Regions from separate parts of the Homo sapiens genome. Here regions 1 and 2 are each linked to region 3. The links are contacts of gene promoters, found by promoter capture Hi-C in human tissues and cell types (Jung and others, 2019). All regions are on one chromosome and are shown on one strand. The core of a region is centred on a gene start or on the middle of the fragment in contact, and the rest is flanking DNA. Distances in the headings are between cores, read along the strand shown.

Region 1 (3,436 bases), core at 834-3,333, 690 kb before region 3:
TGTGAGGATGTGTCTGGAAGAAATTAGTATATGAATTTGTGGACTCAGAACAGCAGATTGCCTTACCCTAGGTGGGTGGCCATTATCCAATCTCTTGAGGGCCTGAATAGAACAAAAGGCAGAGGCAGAAGGAATTTGCCCCTTTTTCTTCCTATCTGGAATGTCTCATTTCATCTCCCCTGGCCCTCAGACTGGTTTCTCAGGCCTTTGGACTTGGACTGAATTACACCACTGGCTTTCCTATATTTGCAGCTTGCAAATGGCCAATTATGGGACTTCTTAGCCTCTATAATCTCATAAACCAATTCCTCATTATCTATTTATCTGTCTGTCTACTAACTACCTATCTACCTATCCATCCATCTATCTATCCCACTGGTTCTGTTTCTCTGGAGAACCCTGACTAATCCCCCTAGTTATTTTATTCAAATAATGTACAAACATTTGGATATTTTAAAATATTTTATTCTGTCTTAAATTATTTCCAAATATGTTAATATTGTTATCCTGTAGGTATGGCTATCAGAAGAATCAAGATGAATGAGCGTCCAGACCATTGAAGGGAAAGAAGTCTGGCTGATGAAAATGAGCTCTGCACTGAATCCAGGCCATGTTTTGAGGTTTCCATTGTTTTTGGCTCAGCCTAGAAATTGGATTATTGCTCTTCATACCACTGGAGGCCTGCAGCCCAACCTCTGACCCAAGCTATCACAGAAAACAGGGAAACACAAACTGAAAATTATAACAATGCTCTTCAAGCTCAACAGAGAGATAGTCAGACACGTAATCACCACGGAGAGATTACAGTTTTCTAGTCTACACTTTTGAAGGGAAAGAGACTGCAAAAAAAAAAAAAAAAAAAAAAAGAGAGAGAGAGCATTAACCTTTATCAGCTTTCAGCATTTCATGCTTTCAATTTAGAACTGGATGCTATTGGCTCTGGAAGGCCATAGAAGATGTGGGAAGAGCATGCACTGTTGCTTCCATTATTTTGTAGTGAGAAGGATGGCTTTGGCGAGACTCTAAACGCTCTTCCTTTAAAAATCTTAACCTCTGCCTCACTGATCAGAAGGCTTTGTGGAGACCCAGCAAAGCCTGATACTCTGTGACAGAAACCATGCCCACTATTGATGCTCATCTCTGTCATCTTAATGGCCTCTAGCAAGAAAGTCTTTAGGCAAGCTAGTGCTTGAAGCTTACCTAAAATATAAAGGTATCCCTGGTGGGGAAAAACTATGAAGTTTTGCCAAAAAAAAAAAAAAAAAAATTCACTCTCAACCAAGATGCCATCTTTAAAATTTGGTGAGAGATTGTTCTTATAGATGGGTATGATTCTTAGACATTCATTTCTTCATCATTCTTTGGGAAAAATAACAACATCTAACATCAATAATTTGAAGTCTAAGGATACAGCTTTCCCCACTGAAGAGGAAATGGATTCACTTTATTGCAAGAGGAAGCAACTCTAACTTTAAACCCAGCAATAACACATTCCTTATTCCCTATTTTTAGTTTTTTCTTTGGACTTTACCCCATTAAATTAGATAACTTAAGGGCAAGGTCTGAACAGTGAAGACAATTCAAACATGTAATCAAAAGGCTGTCTCTCTGATCGCAAAAAGGGTGTTTAGAGTTTAATATTGACACTATGTCGCTTCCACATAAATTAAAATTTTAAATCCTGTTTAAAATTCAGTTGAATATATGTTACCTAACATTGATCAAATATGAGCCAGTTGGCAATACTCACATAACTGGCACTGGTTTTCATATCATGATGTCTCATCTAACTGAATAGCTGTTGTTAGTGTTAAGTCCTGCTGGCAATATGGTATCCATTTGACAAAATGATAGCCTATGTTTGTGCTGACCCATTTTACCCTAAGGCTTATACTGCTTCTCTAGAACATTTCTTTTGGATGATAAACACAAATAAATAAACACTAGATTGAAAAAAGGTGTGGCCATACTGGCTAAAAGATTTCTACTCAAGAAAGACCGTGATTTTATAACTTTACCTTGGAACAGCTGCTTGAGAAAGAAACAAGGCAAGAGAATCCAAATAAATTATTCTATTACATTATAAAGTCATTTTGATATTATAGTTTAAAATTTTTCTAAAAGGATAAATAGCATGAATAAGAAACAAATATTCTTTACTTATTTGAGGGTTTTGTGAAGTGAATCCTACAAAATCTCTCTAACCAGGGGATTTACATGTTTCATTTCTCTTTTTAATTAAAAATCACATACTTGAGATAATAAATGAAGAAAAAAAATCCTGTTAACACACACCCCTGTTAATGCCAAAAGGAGTCAAGCCCCATAAAGTCAGGAAATGTCAAAGTTAACCATCTTGTACAAGCAAATGTTCACTCACCTCATTAAACATAGATAGCATTTTCTTTTTCTACTTTATTAAATTACAAATGTACATTGAGCTTTAACTGTTTATTTGTTTCAGAATATTCTACAACATTTATAATGCCTAGTACAGTGATTGGCACACAGTGGTCACTCATTCAATGTTTGTTAAGTAACGATGAACGGATGAGTGGATGAATGAATTTGATCACACGGCAGAAATCATCTATGACAAAACATTTGTCATGAGCTTTTCAGTTCTCATACTCTACATATATTCTTTAGATAATTGACATGACTGTATATTTACTATTTATATTTTCTAGTACTGATGATCAGGTCTTCTTGGCACATAGAGTCAGAAACTCTAGAATTGAGGCTTGAGAGTGGGCTGGACTCTTGTTGGAGTTCTGCTCTTCCATGCAGGGCGGAAAAGGTAACGACAAAAATTCCTCTCCCACCCTCTCTCTCCTACTCAAACTTGTCAAGGCAATGACTGATACAAAACAGAACCTACTGTTTCTCACTATGTAATGGGAGTCTATGAAGAGCTTCAGCTGTGGAGAGGATTGTTAAGTTTCGTGGAAGTAGATGCAGTAAACATAGGAGCATTGTAAGAGATGATTGTTTTAGAGGATGAGTGAGTGGTGTAATTAAGAGGACAACCAAGATTACTTTGCCAGACTGCAGTCTATTCCATCCTGTGATAAGTTGTGAACGTTTCTTTAAACGACTGGCATTATATAAATGTTTTCACAGTAAGAGTCAAAAAAGGAAAATAATGGAATGGCTGCATTTCACAACTTTAGGAAAGGGTGTATTCTGTTTTTGTCTCTGTTTCCTGTAGTAGTTAAGAGTTTTTCTGTGTTTGAACTAGAGTTTTAATGAGATAGGGCACCTTCACTAAAGGACTTCCATGCCAGAACTCTTTCTGTATTAATACACAAAGAAATAGTTCAAAGTAAGCTTTGAATTTGGAGTCAATATGCTGATCAAGTGCATGGAAATATTTTCTTCTTGACATACAGTGCACCGTGCCCTGAAGGACAAATATAAATTACAAGTTCTACCC
Region 2 (3,497 bases), core at 369-2,868, 760 kb before region 3:
TTCTTTAAGGAGTAGCCATTTTGTTATGATTTTCACCCTTGGACTTGTGTTTTCACCATTGGACTTGTATTTTAATAGAGTTTAAAACATAGTGGTATGTTTCCATTTTTATGTGTTGCTTTTGTTTTATTGAGGACTATCAGAGATTTCTGAAATTTTTCTGTTTAATGAAGATTTAAATTGCTACGAACACCTACTAACCTCCCTGCCCAGTGCCTCTATTCCTTTGCAGAACAGCTATCTTGCTTTGTCAATTATGTGTTTCAAGTTGTATCTGTCAATCACAGAAACCTGCCTTCTTGGCCACAGTGATTTGTCCATGGGTGGAAATAGCTAACCCAAAGTAGACCAGTGAGTTGTTTTTCTTAGAATGTTAACTTGAGTCAGTTCCTGCAGGCAAAGCTGTGAGTTATTAGACCCCAGGACACAAGATGACCATATTCCCTGCAGTGTAAAACAAGTCAATCTGAACACGACTTCAGAATTACAGAGAGTGGGGCCAGGATGTTCTGATACCATTTGGTCTCTGGTTCTAGCCACTTCTTTGACCAAGCTGTACTCTGTCCTTCATTTGGCTACTTGACACCTCCATGAAATTCTCTTGGTAGCATGTTCCATTTCAATTGGGCTTCTCTCACTTGTGATGTGTCAAATAACACAGAAAAATTTTGGTATGTTAATGATTGTTACAGAAGACAAGGTGGAGCCTGCTATTTTATTCTAATATTATTATATTATAACATTATAAGCCATCTTTATGTTTTAAGTGCCCTTCATGCACATTACTTTTAATGACCATGTAATATTTCATCATATAGCTATATTAAAACTTTATTTAACTTTTCCGCTAGTAAGGTAAATTTAGATAATTTTTTTAAGACAGAATCTTAAAATCAACGGGTGGAAAGCTTTTGATATATATTGCCAAATTGTTTTTAGGAAGGTTGTAGCCCCTGGAATCCCATCTGTACTGTCCAAACACACTGTTTCATTGCACCATTTCTAGCACTGATTATTAATAGTTTAAAATATTTTGATCATTTGTACTAGTAGAGTTCAAAATTTCCTCTCATGTTTATCTTGTGTCTATTTTTCTATCATTTGATTGCTAATGCACTTCTTATTGATGTATATACGTTTTTAAAATACAATTAACTTTTTATAATATTTGTGTTATTTTTTTCCCTTTGTTTTATAGTTTGCTTTAGCTTTTGGTTACTTTTTTATATAACAAAGATTTATATTTTAATGCTACTAAATATATTAGTCTTCCTTTCCCCCCCAATTACTATTAAGCTTAGAATATCCTTCTATGATAAATATCAGATATTCACCTATATTTTACCTTTCTTAAAATAAATATTTAAAAAATTTCATCTGTCATCAATGTGGGATTCATTTTCTCCAAAATAATTAGCCATTCTGAAAACTAATTATTGATTAATCTCTTCTCTCACCTATTGATCTATAATAAGATCTAAAACACAATATATTAAATATTTTATATACGTAAAAATGGTTGTTCATAGATCTATACCAACCATCTACAAATGTATCCTTCTTTCCCATTCTATAAGGTTTTAATTGTTTTATTTGTATATACTTTGATAAGAAGTGACAATAGTAATAGCTATCACATATTGAGTGCTTGCTTACTATGCACCAGACATTGCCCTAAATAATTTCCATTTATTATAATTTTTAAGCTTGTCAAAAACTTATGAATTTCTAAGAGGTTCTTCTTCATTACTCTTCTTTTACAAATTATCCTTAGGTATTCCTGCCCCTCAGATGAACTCTAGAATTATTTTGAGAAGTTCTGTATTTTTTCCTTAAATATAAAAAAATCACTTAATATTTTTACAAATATTGCCAAAATTTTCTTCTGGATGAGTGCAGTAGGGCTGGCTCAGCCTGGGATGTTGGGAGCAGGGACTGGACAAGGGCATATTAGGAACCTCCCCACCACTGCAGAGCAAGGGGAGAGGGAGACGTGAAAATGAACAGACAGTATAGTGCAGTGCTGTTCAATAGAAATATAATAAAAAGTACATCATACAAAAGTACATGTGTAATTTTGAACAACTTTCTAGTAGACAAACAAGATAAAAAAGGTTAAATTATTCTAATAATATATTTCATTTAACCCAACCTATCCCAAATATTTTCAAAAAGTTATCCTTATATAAATTATGAACGGAATATTTTACATTTTTTCTACTAATATTTGAAATGGCGTGAACATTGTACACATACAGCATGGATCAACCGGGATCAACCACATTATGAGTGCTCAGTAGCTTCAGGTGGTTGGTGGCTATGGTATTGCACAGCACAGATTTAGAGAAAGCCTCCAATCTTAGAACAGCAGGGAGGAAAAGGTAGGCTAGGCCAGAGAAAAATTCCACAAGATAAAACCAGCTGTTCCATAGGGCAAATAGAGGGTGAATTTGAGAGTTGCTCAGAGAGGCAATCTAAAACTAGACCTTCTTTCAGAGTCTACATCTTAAGCTCTCAGTGAGTAGTGGTGCTAACAGGGTGCTGGTCCAGTTTAGACAATGATATTTAATCTTCCTTTATATTGCATAATCCTGGAGTGAACAAATAACAGAACATTTACAACTAGAAGAAAAAAGCTAGCATATTTTTAAGGTGGTCTTTTTATTTTGTATATACTCAGATGGTTTTTCAGTGTCACGGGAATATAAAATGAAAAGTTTGAAAAGCTTGTTCCAAAAACGTGAGGGTATTTGAGAGAAAAACTCACCTTCTTTTTTGTTTATTTAGGGAAGGAGATTGAACTGTTTATTAATAATAGAATACAGGACAATACTTCTCTGTATATCTGTGGAGAAGCATAGCAAAATAGAAGGCTTGTTTACTTACGGTGGGTCCAGAAGTTCACAAAAACAAGTCCAGAACTAAGAGAATAAATGTATAGCTCTATGCTATAAAGAAAGTAACATTCAATGTTTTCAAGAAACAATGGTGATCAAATATGCCATCTAAAGTCATCAGAAGTGAAGACTCTTCATGTTGTGCAGTAGCTTCCCCTTATCTGCAGTTTCACTTTCTGTGGTTTTAGTTACCCATTGTCAACTGCAGTCTGAAAATATTAGATGAAATTTTAAAAATAAACAATTCATAAGTTTTAAATTATGTGCCATTCTGAGTATTGATGTAACTGTTCTATTTTATTATGTTACTGTTGTGAATCTCTTACAGTGCCTAGTTTATAAATTAAACTTTATCATAAGTATTTATGTATGTATAGGAAAAAAACATAGTATATTTATATAGGGTTTGGTACTCTCCAACGTTTCAGTCACCCACTGGGGTCTTGGAATGTGTCCTCTGTGGATAAGAGGGACTACCATGGTCTTTATTACCATCTAGTTGGTAATTACTCATCTGCTTCTGTTAAAAAGGATGAAAGGCAAAGCAGATGTCTTCAGAAATACTAGTGAAGATATCTGAAAAGAGAAACTTGCCAATAC
Region 3 (3,378 bases), core at 130-2,629:
CGCCGCCTCCCCCGGGGCCGCCGCCCGGGCCGCCGCCGCCGCCCGGGCCGCCACCGCCCCCCGGGCCGTCGTGGGCGCCGCCGCCGCCGGCCGCCGCGCCCGCGCCGCCCGCGCCGGCCATGAGCGCGAGCGACGGCGAGGAGATGTGGTCCAGCAGATCGCCGGGTTCGAGCGCCTGGTGGTGGTGGTGGTGGTGGTGGTGGTGCGCCAGAGGCACCGTGGAAGTGGACGTGCACGGCACGCTGTTCATCGTGTGGTACGTGGCGTCCGGCTTGAAAGGATGGCTCTTGCCCTGGGACACGGCGATGTCCACGGCCGCCAGCGCCTCGGCCCGCGCCAGCAGCGTCTCGTCCAGGCTGGCGAAGAGGTTGCTCTGCAGCTGCAGGCGACACAAACCAAACCAAAAAAACCACAAAACCAAAAGAGCAAAACAAAACAACAGAAGAAACACACACACAGGCCGGAAAGCACAGCATGCGAAGGGCAAACACAAAGCAACCAAAATAACAACGGGTTTGGGGGCAGTGGAGAGCGGGAAAGACGGAGAGGGGGCACATTGACGACCAGGGAGGGGGCAGACGAGAAGGGATGGGAGCGTGGAGAGGGGGACAGAAGTAGGGAGAAAGGGGGACACAAGAACACATTCCGGAAACGGGCGTGGGAGACGAAAAAGAGGGAAAAGAAGAAATGGAAATGTAACTCGCAGCTGGGGACCCGTGTCACACACCCGAGCACGCACAGAGACTGCCTTTCTGAGGCGTGAAATTAACAGAGAAAGTAGAGGGAAGTCGAGAGTCCTGGCCCCAGCGCTCCCTACTCCGATCGCAGGCGCCTGACGCGGAGGCAGAGGCAGACAGGAACACGACATTAAGGGCCGCCGGACAAAACGTGCCTCGCTGCGGGACTGCTCTACACCCCCTGCCCGCAGTTCCCCGCACCGGGACCTGCACACACCAGCCCCCGACATGCAGCGTTTCGGAGACGGGGAGGGGCGGGCGCGCGGGCCGGGGCCGCGGGCGTGGGGCGCTTACCGGCGGCGTGGGCAGGCAGGCCCGCCGGATGGCCTCGGAGCTGGAGTGCAGCGACGGGTACTTGTGCTCAGGGAGGGTGGGATGCATGGCAAAGTGAGGCTGCTTGCTGTTCATGGACATCATCGTGGCGGCTTGGCATGTATATCCACAAACACTCCGAAAGTCCGCGGGAAAGTGCGTACGCCGGCTCACCCGGCCTCCCTTCGGAGGCTGCAGCCGCGGCGGTCGCGGCGGCTGGCGGCGGCCCCGCCGCGGGCTGCTGCTGCTGCTCCTGCTGCTGCCAGGCGCTCCCTCTGACCGCGCAGAGCGCCGCGCGCCGGCCTCGCGGTCCCGCTTCTCCGACAGCTCTAGCCCCGCGCGCCGACGGGATGCACTCCTCTAACACCTGAGCCCCACTTCTCGCGGCCGTCCCGGGGAGCTCTCGCGAGAGCTCGCGGCCCCACCGCGCTGACAGGCATCAGCTGTCTCCGTCTGTCTGACGCGCGCTCTCCTTCTCGGCGGCCCCGTGCGTCTGCGCGCGCGCGCGCTCGTCCGGCCGCGACCAGCGCGTGGGAGCCGCTCTTATAGTGACCACCAGCAAGGACAGCGCAGGTGATGCACCTGTAGCTACCCGGGCATGCGCACTGCCCGCCTCACCTTTCCCACCGTGGTCTGGAAAGATCAGAAGGTCCAGCTATTGTCTAAGGGTGGGCACCTTTTAGAATAAAAAAGACGAGATGCGCGCACGCCCCTCTATGTGTGTGTGTGTGTGTGTGTGTGCGTGCGTGTGTGTGTATGTGTGTATGTTTCTTCTCCCTGATAGCAAGCCTTGAATATATGAGCATTACTTAGGCATTCCTCCTCTTCGGGATGCCTAACAAGCTGTTGTATAATGTATACAGCTGGACATTTCTACGTTAAATTATGCCCGCGCATTCCTCTGTATACAGTATAAATAACAACACAGAAATGCAGAAGGTGCTGTCTTTTGCTGCAAGAACCTGTTTCTTTAAAGGTTTATAAATAGGTTCCTGGAGAATAATCGCGGTGACAGACATTTGTTTGAAGCAGTCAGACGCTATTGATTTCCATATAATTTAATTTCCTCCGCATACTTTTTTGTTGTTGTTGTGAATATAACTGTGTCAGGCACCGCCAGTGACAGCCACTTAGGAGCCACAAGGAGCGTGTGCTTTCTACTCGGGAAAAGCTGTTGAAATGAAATTGTGCATTTCTCTTATTGTTTGTCTCCTTCAACCGTGTACAAACCCACGTTTCAAACGAGCTCCGGGTGATCTAAGGCTTCTAGTAATCAAAAGGAAAAAACAGTTAACAGGGTGTAGTTGGGATCCTTCCTCCCCTCAGCGTACACACACACACACACACACACACACACACACACACACTTTATGCTGGGAACTCCAGGAAAACTGCTTCAGAGAAAAGGGAATAAGATGTTGAAAAGAGAACTTTCTTTTCCCTTCCATCTTTTTGGCTTTTTGCCTCATATCTCTGCCTGCTTATATATATTTTTTTCAATAGGAGACAGATCAAACTAACTTACAGGAAAGCTTGATTCAAAAATATTAAATCAAGCCAATTTGAAAGAACGGGGACAAGCTCTGGTCCAGTTTTTAAATTTTTAAAAAATTATTGTGAAATTAAGACCTAAAAAGAATAAATCAATTAGCCAACCTGTTATATGGCCCTTATGTGGTAGCAGATCAAGAGCCTCCCAGGGGAGCCACAGTTCAGGTGCCAAAGTCCCCAGGGAAGGAGCACTTGCTCGCGGTGATAATAACCTAACAGCCCAGATGTTATCACATCTGCGGTAAGAGAGCTGGAGAGCAGCAAGGGGCTGCTTATGGAAAGCAGAAATCAGATAATCTTTCTGTTCTCTCCCACACCAAGGAAGTCTGTATTTCCACCAAAGAGCAGATCTCATTTCTATAAACCTAAATTTGCGTTCCCGTGGATTTTATCTTTCCTCTGCACAAATGCATGTGTGTTTAGCATACCCACTCACCTACTCAGATTCCAAGAAGAGCCCACAGGCGTCACCATGGCTTTTTCTTTCTTTCTTTTCATGTTCCCCCCCACCCCCTCCCTTCCTTCTAGCTCCAGAGGGAAGTGAGAAGGATGTTCACTTGCTGGTGAGAGAAGGAGCTGGTTCCATCCATTACGCAGTCCCCTGGGAGCGCTAAATGCAACTTTATCTCAACGGGGAGTGGACGATGAGCAGGACGTCGCTAGAGGGAAAGAGTGAGTCCTACGGTAGTCATCACACCGGGAGTCCGGGCTTAACCTAGTCCTTCCTGACACCCCTGGTGGCCGTTCCCTGCGCTCTCTCTTGACGGGAAAGAAAAGG

What was found. Contacts are between HindIII fragments. The study calls those that stand out against the background at their distance.
Region 1: a contact is called between a fragment that was not itself captured here and the fragment with the promoter of POU4F1 in region 3, in 1 of the 25 tissues and cell types used here (lymphoblastoid cells).
Region 2: a fragment that was not itself captured here is called in contact with the fragment with the promoter of POU4F1 in region 3 in 1 of the 25 tissues and cell types used here (lymphoblastoid cells).

Annotation. Positions count from the first base shown.
Region 1 is chr13:77,907,179-77,910,614 of GRCh38, forward strand. The region is part of intron 1 of EDNRB (endothelin receptor type B); the gene reads right to left. EDNRB-AS1 (EDNRB antisense RNA 1) reads left to right here. Exons shown (of 7, transcript NR_103853.1): 7 at 514-1,264. Among named protein-coding and RNA genes, the nearest start is that of EDNRB, 9.9 kb to the right of the region's middle. The HindIII fragment of the contact is 4,484 bases long and covers 1-3,436 here.
Region 2 is chr13:77,843,331-77,846,827 of GRCh38, forward strand. All of the region lies in intron 6 of EDNRB-AS1 (EDNRB antisense RNA 1), which reads left to right. Among named protein-coding and RNA genes, the nearest start is that of EDNRB-AS1, 26 kb to the left of the region's middle. The HindIII fragment of the contact is 3,131 bases long and covers 54-3,184 here.
Region 3 is chr13:78,602,173-78,605,550 of GRCh38, forward strand. POU4F1 (POU class 4 homeobox 1) reads right to left here and starts at 1,380. Exons shown (of 2, transcript NM_006237.4): 1 at 1,032-1,380; 2 at 1-379. The coding sequence starts at 1,154. OBI1-AS1 (OBI1 antisense RNA 1) reads left to right here. Exons shown (of 6, transcript NR_047001.1): 4 at 3,129-3,272. RefSeq lists a silencer at 1,171-1,330. The HindIII fragment of the contact is 11,230 bases long and covers 1-3,378 here.